2 separate regions of the Homo sapiens genome follow, and region 2 is linked to region 1. Evidence: promoter capture Hi-C in 16 types of primary human blood cells and fetal thymus (Javierre and others, 2016). All regions are on one chromosome and are shown on one strand. Each heading gives the region's core, a stretch centred on a gene start or on the middle of the fragment in contact. The rest is flanking DNA. Distances are from core to core; before and after follow the strand shown.

Region 1 (5,009 bases), core at 1,476-3,975:
TGGGCTAAGATACAAACATATTTGGCCTGGACTACTGCTCCTATCCCTTAACCTGTCTCCCTTCTTCCACTTATGACCTGACCCCTCTACAATGCATGCTACCACTGTAGCGAGGATAATAAACACATAAATTATGTTACTGCCCTCTTTAAAAGATTCTAAAGGCATTTGATGCCATTAGAAAAAATCCAAATGCTTTATTATCACAGCCAGCCTTTGAGGACTTGCAGCCTCTGCAATATCTAGGCATTTAGTGACTACCTACTTTCCCAATATCTTTCCTTATGGATCCCCTCCACACTCTGACCCACGTTCAAGTTAAATATTTTAAGTATTTGCTACCTGATGGCCAAGCACACTCTGCCTAGCTTCCTCTCATCCCTCAGATTCCAATTCAAATGACACTTCCTCATAAAGCTCTTCACTGACTAATCTCTTCACCATCTACCACATGACATTATTTTCTTCATGTTTATCACAATCTGTAAAAATGTGTGTGTGTATGTGTGTGTGCCCACGCACGTGTCTGTGTAGGGGGAAAAGGGGGTGTTAATTGTTTTTTCTACCACTAGATAAGCTTTATTGGGAGCAGGAATTTTGTTTGTCCTATGTACTACTGTTCCCTAGGGTCCAGAACAATATGGGACATATACCAGACACTCAACAAGTCTTTGTTTAATCAATACTCAAAAGGTGGCATGGTCTACAGCACTGGACTGGAAATGAAATTACCTAGGTTCTAACCAGACTTGACTCTACCAGCAACTAGCTGTGTGGCCTTGGGTACAACACAAGATTGGAGTGGCTTATGAGTAACTGGAAGGTAAGCAAGTGAAGAGAGCAAGTATGAAGACTTTTTTCCCAAATTTCCTTGTCTAAATTCAAAAAGTGTAGATATATGGAAATCTTTAACCTCTCTCATTCTCAGTCTCCTCATCCGTATGAGATTACTTTAAAGGTCACTTCAAGTTCAGAAGTACCATAATTAGGCTGGGTGCGGTGGCTCACACCTGTAATCCCAGCACTTTGGGAGGCCAAGTCAGGCAGATCACTTGAGGTCAGGAGTTCCAGACCAGCATGGCGAACACGGCGAAACCTCATCTCTACTAAAAATACAAAAATTAGCCGGCCGTGGTGGCGGGCGCCCGTAATCCCAGCTACTCAGGAGGCTGCGGTGGGAGAATTGCTTGAACCCAGTAGGCGGAGGCTACAGTGAGCCGAGATAGCGCCACTGCACTCCAGCCTGGGCGACAGTGAGACTCCGTTTCAGTAAAATAAAAAAAAAAGATACCATAAATTATATGGGCCTAAACTTGAACCTTCCTTACTCACCCCTCACTTATACTCTACCCCTTCTACCCTCAAGAACCAAATCATGGTAGTCATCCTGAAACCAAGCATCGCACAGTGCACCTTACTATCTAAACCTTTGCTCATAGGGCTGCCTCTTCTCCAGCTCCAACCACTGGAAATTCCATCCCTCAAAGCCCAGATCAACTGCTAACTGCTTCATAACCACCTAGTCCAAAATGAATATGATCATTATGTTCCAGAACTCCTCTATGCTTCAAATTAGAGTACTCCCTGATCTACCACTACCTGCTGGACTAGTCACTTAACTTCTCTTCGCCTCAGTTTCCTAATCTGTAAAATGGAGCTAAAAGGACCTACCATACCACATATTATTGTTGGATAATAGAGAACACTTAGCATGGTAATAACATGTTCAATTAAAACATTATTTCTGTGCTACATATATTTTCCATGCTCCTTGAAGGCTCCGAAAGAGCATTTTCCATTTCTGAATCTCCCAAGTTTGACGCCATTTACCTCTCAATGTTTTGACTTTTTGTATCCATAAAATGAAAGAAATGGACTAGACCAACTACCATTCCCTCCAAAAATGTTATCTATTCCCTTGCAAAAATAGCCTAACGCAAAGATACTGCAGGTGACCTTCCACAAGGACGGGAATTCGAGGGTAAGTTAACTATTGCTGCAAACGGAAGTGGCTGGAAGCAAAGAGATTAAAACAACATTCAAGATTTTGAAGATCCTTTCCAAAGAAACTGACTCCTGCCATAGTGATGGATCCTTTGAAATATGTTTTTAAGTTGGGTTACAAGGATGAACTCGGGGTCCATGAACTCCCAAACAGAAATGTAAAACTGTGCGCCAGAACAAATATACAAATTTTTCTGGGGCCAGAGTGTCTGCAGCATACATTAAATGCATCTGTGACCTTAAGGGGCGAAAAGAGGGTGACAATGAAGAGACTAGTCGCGTTAAGTTGGAAACCACAATGGATGATACTTTAGACAACAAACGCAACCTCAGATAACCATAATCCCCAACAAGTGAGAAGATGACCTCAGACCGGGCGAAGCAGCCGCCGGGTATGAGGAGACGCTGGTGGAAGCAATGCTACCCAGAGCTCTGCACCTTTCCCAGGTCGGCATCCAGCCCGCATGGCCCGCGGCGTGAGACCCGGGGCGAGGCCCCTCGGCAAACCCCGCTTCCCGCCCCGGTACCTGCGGGGTCGAGCGCCATCTCGGCGGGCCGAGAAGAACGTAGCCGCTTGGCGGCTCCGGGGCACGCAGGAAGGGGAGTGGAGGGGAGGGGCTTGGGCTCGGACGCACGTGCGACCCCCGGGAGCTTCCCGCAACAGAAACACGGGCCCTTTGCAAAGCACCGCCAGGACCCGTTCCCTCTTCCTTCCCAGGCTCCTACTTCCGCCGCCCGTTGCGCCTGCGCCTTTCTGGCCCCGCCCCAATCCTGTAACTAGAGTGGAACTGACTTCGCAGGGGGAATGACCAGGAAAGGGGGCGTGTCTGCGTGCCTTTGGGGCGGGACCGTGCAGGACGCGCGCAGCCTCGCTTCAGGAGGCTTGTGCACCAGTTGCAGACCCGGGTCGGCCGTGACTGGAGGCGGACCTGCAGGACTTTGGGACTGTGCCTCACTCGGTGACTGGGCCAAAGTCCGAGCCCCGTCCCCCATACCCGCCTTCGGAGAACCAAATGAATCATCCAGTTCCTTTTTTTTTCTTCGTTAACGTTCATTCATTCATAAATGTCTATTTCATGCCTGCCAAGTTCCAGCCACGGTTCTGAATACGAGGGGAAAATAACAATAAAAATAACGTCCCTGTTCTCAAGGAGCAGTGTGGCAGAGGAGACAAATAAAAGCAACACGCTGTTAAATGTGATAAACGCCACACGCACTAGTTGTTCACAGCTTGTTCTACCATAAAGGTGATATGGTGTGTGCAATATCGTTATTTCTCCTTCAAATCAAAGACTGTGGCTCTCCTAGACGTTAAAATATGGGCTCTAGAAGTACCTCTATGTTGTGAAATAATATCCTCAGGACGTACAGTATGATTTGGGTGATGTTACAAATCCTGCCTCTATCAGTAAAAGCTGTATGTTTTGTGAGAGTAAAATGAAGGAAGGTAATAGCCGTCCCGCTGAAGACCCACTACTCACCTCTTCTCAATAGAAGAAACTTTCTAGGTGGCACTTAGGTTCATTTCCACTCACAAACCAGCCTTCAGAAGTGCTTCCTTGTCAAATTCACGTTTAACTGGCTCGAGCCACGAAAGGGTGAGCTGAGGCCTGGGACAGATGGGACAGATGTTTAGAAAAACAAGGAGCAGCTGCTTCTTCCCTGCAAGGGATTCAGGGCTTTCAAAATGATCCCCTCCCCACCTACCTGCAGTCCCTCCTCCCCTGCTGCTGCTTCCGCCTGGTCAGTTGGCAGAAAAGCTGAGGCAGTTGAGCAGGGCTGGGAAAGTGGGTCTCTGCTCAGCAGGTCTTCCGTTTAAGGGCCTATTTGGGCATAACGGCCCTTATTACAGCTGTAGGTTGAGGTGCCAAGGTGAAGAATTAACGTTTCACTCACCCAGCCAGGGAATCAGGTCCTTTTCCTTGTATATTTTGTAAATATGCTTAGAAATACACCAAAATGACTCTGGTATGCCTCTTTTATTGTTCTGAAGGTGAAGGATTTGATTTAGAAAGCTAAAGCAATCTTTTTGAGGAGATGGAGTATGAAAACACAGGTCAGACACCCATATTCAAGAATTAAACTAAATCTTTCTATATGCAAAAGGGTATTATGGTAAAGGAGGAAAGTTTGATCTGTTATCTTAGTGAGTTGAGTAAGTTCTATTATTTTTCTGGACTTTGGTTTCCAATTTACAAGGTTGTTCTGAGGAATAAATGTGATATCATACAATGCATTTGAAAGACTTTAAAGGACCACTTCTACCATTTCTGCCATAGCTATTACTTGAAACATTACTATTTAACATTTGTTTTTAAATCAACACATTTTTAAAAACACTTAAATAGGCACTATTTACTTTAGCCTTATCCTAAGCAACAGTATCTGTAATATCATGGGTTTTGTGTGCCCCATAGAATGAACTGCTAGACGTATCACACCAGGAGAAGCACTAGCAAAAACGGTAGCCCAATACCTGATACATAATAGTATATCTCTCTCTACTCCCATGTTAAACCAGATACTTTGGGGGGAAACTGAGTCTTTACAATCTATACCTAGGGAAGATAAGTCATTTTTTAAGTTAAGCGAATGTAATTGGCAATTAAAAACAGAAGAAATTTCCTGAGGCATCGCATTATTAATAGGCAATTCTTTGGGTAGTAACTGCAAAAGGAGCTCAAGGAAAGAGGAGAGGACATCATCCTGGAAATTAGGAACAGTGTCTTACCCAGCTGTGATCCCTAGAGCTCAGGCAACGTCTGGTAACTGGTGACCCCACAAAAGCCTTTCTCAAAGGATTGAATGCCGCAATGGTTAGGAAAGACTTCAGAGATAAGTTAGAAGTTATGCTCGGCCTTGAACGATGGGTACAATGAGTAGACAGAAAAAAGGGCATCTCATGCTGGGAGAAAAATGAGAGCAAAAGCATCTGGGATTTGAACTGTTCTTGAAAGAGCATGGTGGAGCATGGCAGAGTACAGGCTAAGGAATGGAATCACATG
Region 2 (4,720 bases), core at 652-3,151, 270 kb after region 1:
ACAAGAACCCAGTACTGTCTGCCACCATGAGGTAACTAAAGATTGACAGCCCAGGTTTCTCAGCTGAAAGTGTTGAATTTATGCTAGGGGCATCTTGTTGCCTAAAGAAACGTACTCATCCTGGGAGACAGTTTTCTTTATTTTGAAGGTTGGGAATATCCCAGAAGGAGCCTTTAGTAAGAAGATGGATAAATATTCATTGATACAACAAATATTAATTGAGTGCCTCTATGTTCGAGGTACTGTCTGCATTTATTAAGCTCTGTATAGGTGCCAAGCTTTATGTTAAGTGCTTTATATGCACCTCATTTAGTCTTCTAAAGTGTCAGTTATGTAATTTTGCATATCTTTTAAAGTTTGCCACATACCACATCTTACATTACTCTGCATAAATCTTATATGTCTGTTGGAATATGGCAGGTTCAAGAGTCTTCAGGTATACATGGAACCAAAGAGAGACCCCAGCTTGTTTTCGAAGGTTCATTCTTTACCTGTATAAAAGCTGTGCAATGTAGAGTAAAGAATATGTTTTCTCAGTCATGGGATCTAGGTTCTGATCTGAGTTCTGCTACTACCAAGCTGTTGAATATTAACCAAATTAATGAATCTTCTTGTGTCTCAGTTTCCTCATTTGTAAAACAATTCCATGAACTAAATATTTTTTTAAACCTTCTCTATTTTGAAACTGTATACATCACCATCTGATTATCTGTAGTAAGGTAATTTAATGAGAAAGTCGAGAGCAGATTTTGAAACTTAAAGCCAAATTTCTGACAATCCAAAGAATCATTGGCTGAAAGCTGAATCTGTCTCTTCCTGGGTCTTGCTTTCCAGTTGGACCTATCGAAGCATATGTCACATTGTAGGGATCTAGGCAGCCATAACAGATGTGAGTTTAATTTTTTTCCGCCAAGTACTGACATATACCTAAGCAGATGTTAGGGTTGAGTTTCTTTTGTTTTTGTTTTTGTTTGTTTGGTTGGTTGGTTGGTTTTTAGCCTCTTGGCTTCCAGTTCTTGTGATGCATTTGTTTATTTGGAGGCACACTGAATTATTTTTCAAACTGGGAAAAACCCTCCTGACAAAAACTATTTTTTAAGTGTCAGAACATTTTCAACTCCAGCCTTCTTTAATCCAACTGAAAAATATGCAAAGAAAAAGAGTAGGTGGTTTCAAGTAAAAGAAGAAAACATAATTGAGAATTTCCTTGCAGGTCCACAAAGGATTTTATTTTGTCTCTACCCTGTACAGCAAGAAAATAAATGCCAGGACGTTTGTAAAGCTGTGATATTATAGGGCTGTTAGTGAAAAACCAAAAAGGATTGAGGGAGTGGGGAGGTGGAGGTTGTCTCTTTGATTGCTAGGGAAATTATGTAGACTTAGTTTCAATTGCTTGAAAATTCCACATCAGGGAATTTGAGGTTGCCTATTGTGGCCAGCTGGCATATAGAGGTCAAGATTGTTTCCTTTCTGTGCTTATATGACAAAGGCATAGCATGATTTTATTGGTGGTACTAATCTAACTGGCACTCAGATACTAAGTTTCTTAAGCACTTGGTAGTATTGAATTGTGTGATCTAGGGTCAGAGGGTAGTGCTAGAGAGAATTATTTGGGGGAAGAGTTGCCCAAAATACTGTAATACTGGCGGAGGTAAGCATCCCTAAGGACCTGTGCAGAAAATCTCTCTGAATACATACAGAAGACATTCATAAATGGAAACAAATACTCAAGAAAAGATAGAAAATCAAGTAGACTACTAATCCAGAGAGGAAATGAAAAGTTTGTCAAAGATCTGTAATAAGATTCCAGGCTCAGAGTATAACTAACTCTCCAAAAACAGGCAGTTTTGTGTTATTCAGACTACAAAATCAATGCAATGTTCACATCAGAATAAAAAAAAAAAGATAGCACTAAAAGAAAAGTGCTAGTGATTTATCCCTTACTAATATACAAACAAAAATTTCTAAGCAAAATGTCAGTGCAGTAAAATCAAATGCAGTAAAACAATTTTTAAAATACACCATTTTCAAGGATGATTCAATATTTAAAAAACCTATTAGCACATTTTTATTTCCTTGGTAGATTAAATGAAGAAAAAACTATTGCATAAAGTGATGCAACAAAAATATTAGAATATCTAGGAAACTTTAAAATTGTACTGAGGGGCATGAAATAATGTCTGAAAAAATGGAGAGATATGCCGTATTATCTAATGGAAATAATAAATATGTAAATTTCAGATAATTCACTACAAAAGCAATTGTTTTAGATGTGTATTTAATTTTAACTTGACAAATTGATATTAAACCTGGGAAAATACATGAAAATAGCCAAGATAATTTGGAAAATGTATCATAATTAGGAGATTAGCATTAACAGAGTAATTATAGGAGTAGAATAAGTAGAGATTTAATATTCATAGGGACAGGAGGCAGAAAAATTCTAGGCAGAAAAGGGAGGGGTTCATGGTGAAGCCCCACTCTCAAGCTGAAAAGCCTGAAACTGCAGCCCAAAATCCCTGTTTTGCCACTCAAATGTTGCCTTTTCCTAAACCACCCATGGCCCCACCCCACCTCATCCTCTGCCTATAAAGACCCTAGACTCAGTCAGCAGAGAGGAACAAGCAGCTGGATGTCAGGACAACTATGGCTGGACACTGGAGACAAGTGGCTTGACTTCAGAGGGACAGCTTGAGGGTGTAACTTCAGAGAAGAATCCAGCCATCTCTGGCCAGACTTCTGAACAAGATTACCTACCTACCTGTCCCCTTTTCAGCTCCCCTTCCCACTGACAGCTACTTTCACTGGCAATAAAATCCCCTGCATTTACCATCCTTCAATTGGTTCATGCAACCTCATTTTTCCTTGACAATAGACAAGAGCTCAGGAGCGAGTGCAGATAAAAAAGGGCCCACTGACCTGTTGACACTTAAACTATATGTGGACAGCAGAACTAAAAGGGTACTGTAACATGCCCACTGGGGCTTCAGGAGTCACAGGTACCCCCACAGATGCTGTCGTGGGGCCTGCACAGAGTTTGCTCCTGCTGGTGCCCAAAAGTCTCACCCCAGCTCCTGCACCTGCTCACCTGCACACTCCCTCCTGTGAGGAGTGGAATAGAGCAGGTCCAAGTTAGTGGAGTTTGCTCCTGTTGACACTGAAGCAGCTAACTTGTTCTAGCGCTGGTGTACTCCAGTTCCCGCCTCGTTTGCCCACTCACTCCCTCCAGCAAGGAGTTGAGAGTGACAGGCTGAGTAAACATGGCACCCCTGTCAAGAGTCCCGCGAAGGGGTCAGGGAAATATCCTGTTTCAATATGTGCTAAAGTAGTATTTTAAATCCCAAGGAAAATGGATTGAGGCAAATTCTGTTAAAGCAATTGGATGTTTATATATAAGAAAATAGTTAGATGTTACCTTGTATTACATACAAAAATAAATTTCATCTGAATTAGAGATCTAAATGTAAAAATAAAAAAATAAAAGCATGAAAACTAAAGGTATGGAAGATAGTTTCTAAGCTTGGGGGTGGGAAAGCTTAAAATTCAAACTCCCAATACAAAAATTTAATAACTGTATAAATATTTTTTAAAATTTTAAAGCAAAGAATACATAAAAATAAAAGTGACTAGGAGAAAACACAATATATTACAAATAAATGGTTAATATTCAAAATACAAAATTACTTTAAATAAATTAATATGAAAAGGTCAATGTAATAGAAAATTAAGCAATGGATCTAAACAGGCAGTTCACACAAAATAAACACAAATGGCCAATAAACATAGAAGAGATGGAAAAGCTTGGCAATAACTAAGGACATGCAAATTTAAAAGACTAAGAAGCCATTTTGCTTATCAGTGACAAAAATTTAAATAGCTTGCTAAGAACCAATGCTGGAAAAAAATTTTGGGAAAGAAGAAACTCCTGTTTGCTAAGGACTTACAGGTGTACTGTTTTGAAGAAAATGTTGGCAGCAGCAAATCTAATTTTAGGAATCCATCCTAAAGTATTGCAAGTACATAAAGTTCTACAAACATGCTCACTGCAGCATGTTAAAAGGCCCATCAAGGTTGGGCATGGTGGTTAAACCTGTAATCCCAGCTACTCAGAAGGCTGAGGTGGGAGGATCGCTTGACTCCCAGGAGTTCAAGGCCAGCTTTGGACAACATGATAAGATCCTGCCAAAAAAAAAAAAAAAAAAAAAAAAAAAGCCCATCTATAACAGAATGTCTGAGAATGTCTAAATAATGGTACACTAATATGATGGAACGACACGAGTACAAAATAATGTAGGAGATCGACATTTATGGAAACAGCCAGGAACAAAAAAAGTTGTAGGATATATGTATAGTACGATTCCATTATTGTTTATAGGTTTTAATGGATGGAGTTGGTGATCTTTATTTTCATTTTGTTATTTTTAATTCTTCATTTTAGATTTGAGCTGCTTCTTAAGTTTTGCCTCCACTCTGCAGCTTCTACAGATCTTTAAGCTCTTGAGCTCAGGAGCAAGGCTAAAATTCAGGAGCTACACAAACCATCCTCACCCAGAACCACTTAGAACCACTGAGGAGCACCTAGGATACTCATTTCAAGACGGGAGCGCTTCAATGCTTTAAAAATACATATGTAAATACACAAAATACTTATGAGTGTGTGTATATGTGTGTATGTGTAGTTTAAGCTTGCAACTGGAGAAAAACAAATGTTTTTAAGTTG

The links. Contacts are between HindIII fragments. The CHiCAGO score rates a contact against its expected background, and 5 or more counts as called.
Region 2: a fragment that was not itself captured here is called in contact with the fragment with the promoter of CMC1 in region 1 in 1 of 17 cell types (M2 macrophages); the score reaches 5.2 in M2 macrophages.

Annotation. Positions count from the first base shown.
Region 1 is chr3:28,239,335-28,244,343 of GRCh38, reverse strand. It overlaps CMC1 (C-X9-C motif containing 1), which reads right to left and starts at 2,725. Exons shown (of 4, transcript NM_182523.2): 1 at 2,532-2,725. The coding sequence starts at 2,550. RefSeq lists a silencer at 2,433-2,512. The HindIII fragment of the contact is 9,835 bases long and covers 580-5,009 here.
Region 2 is chr3:27,972,012-27,976,731 of GRCh38, reverse strand. No RefSeq gene overlaps it. Among named protein-coding and RNA genes, the nearest start is that of LINC01967, 54 kb to the left of the region's middle. The HindIII fragment of the contact is 3,241 bases long and covers 281-3,521 here.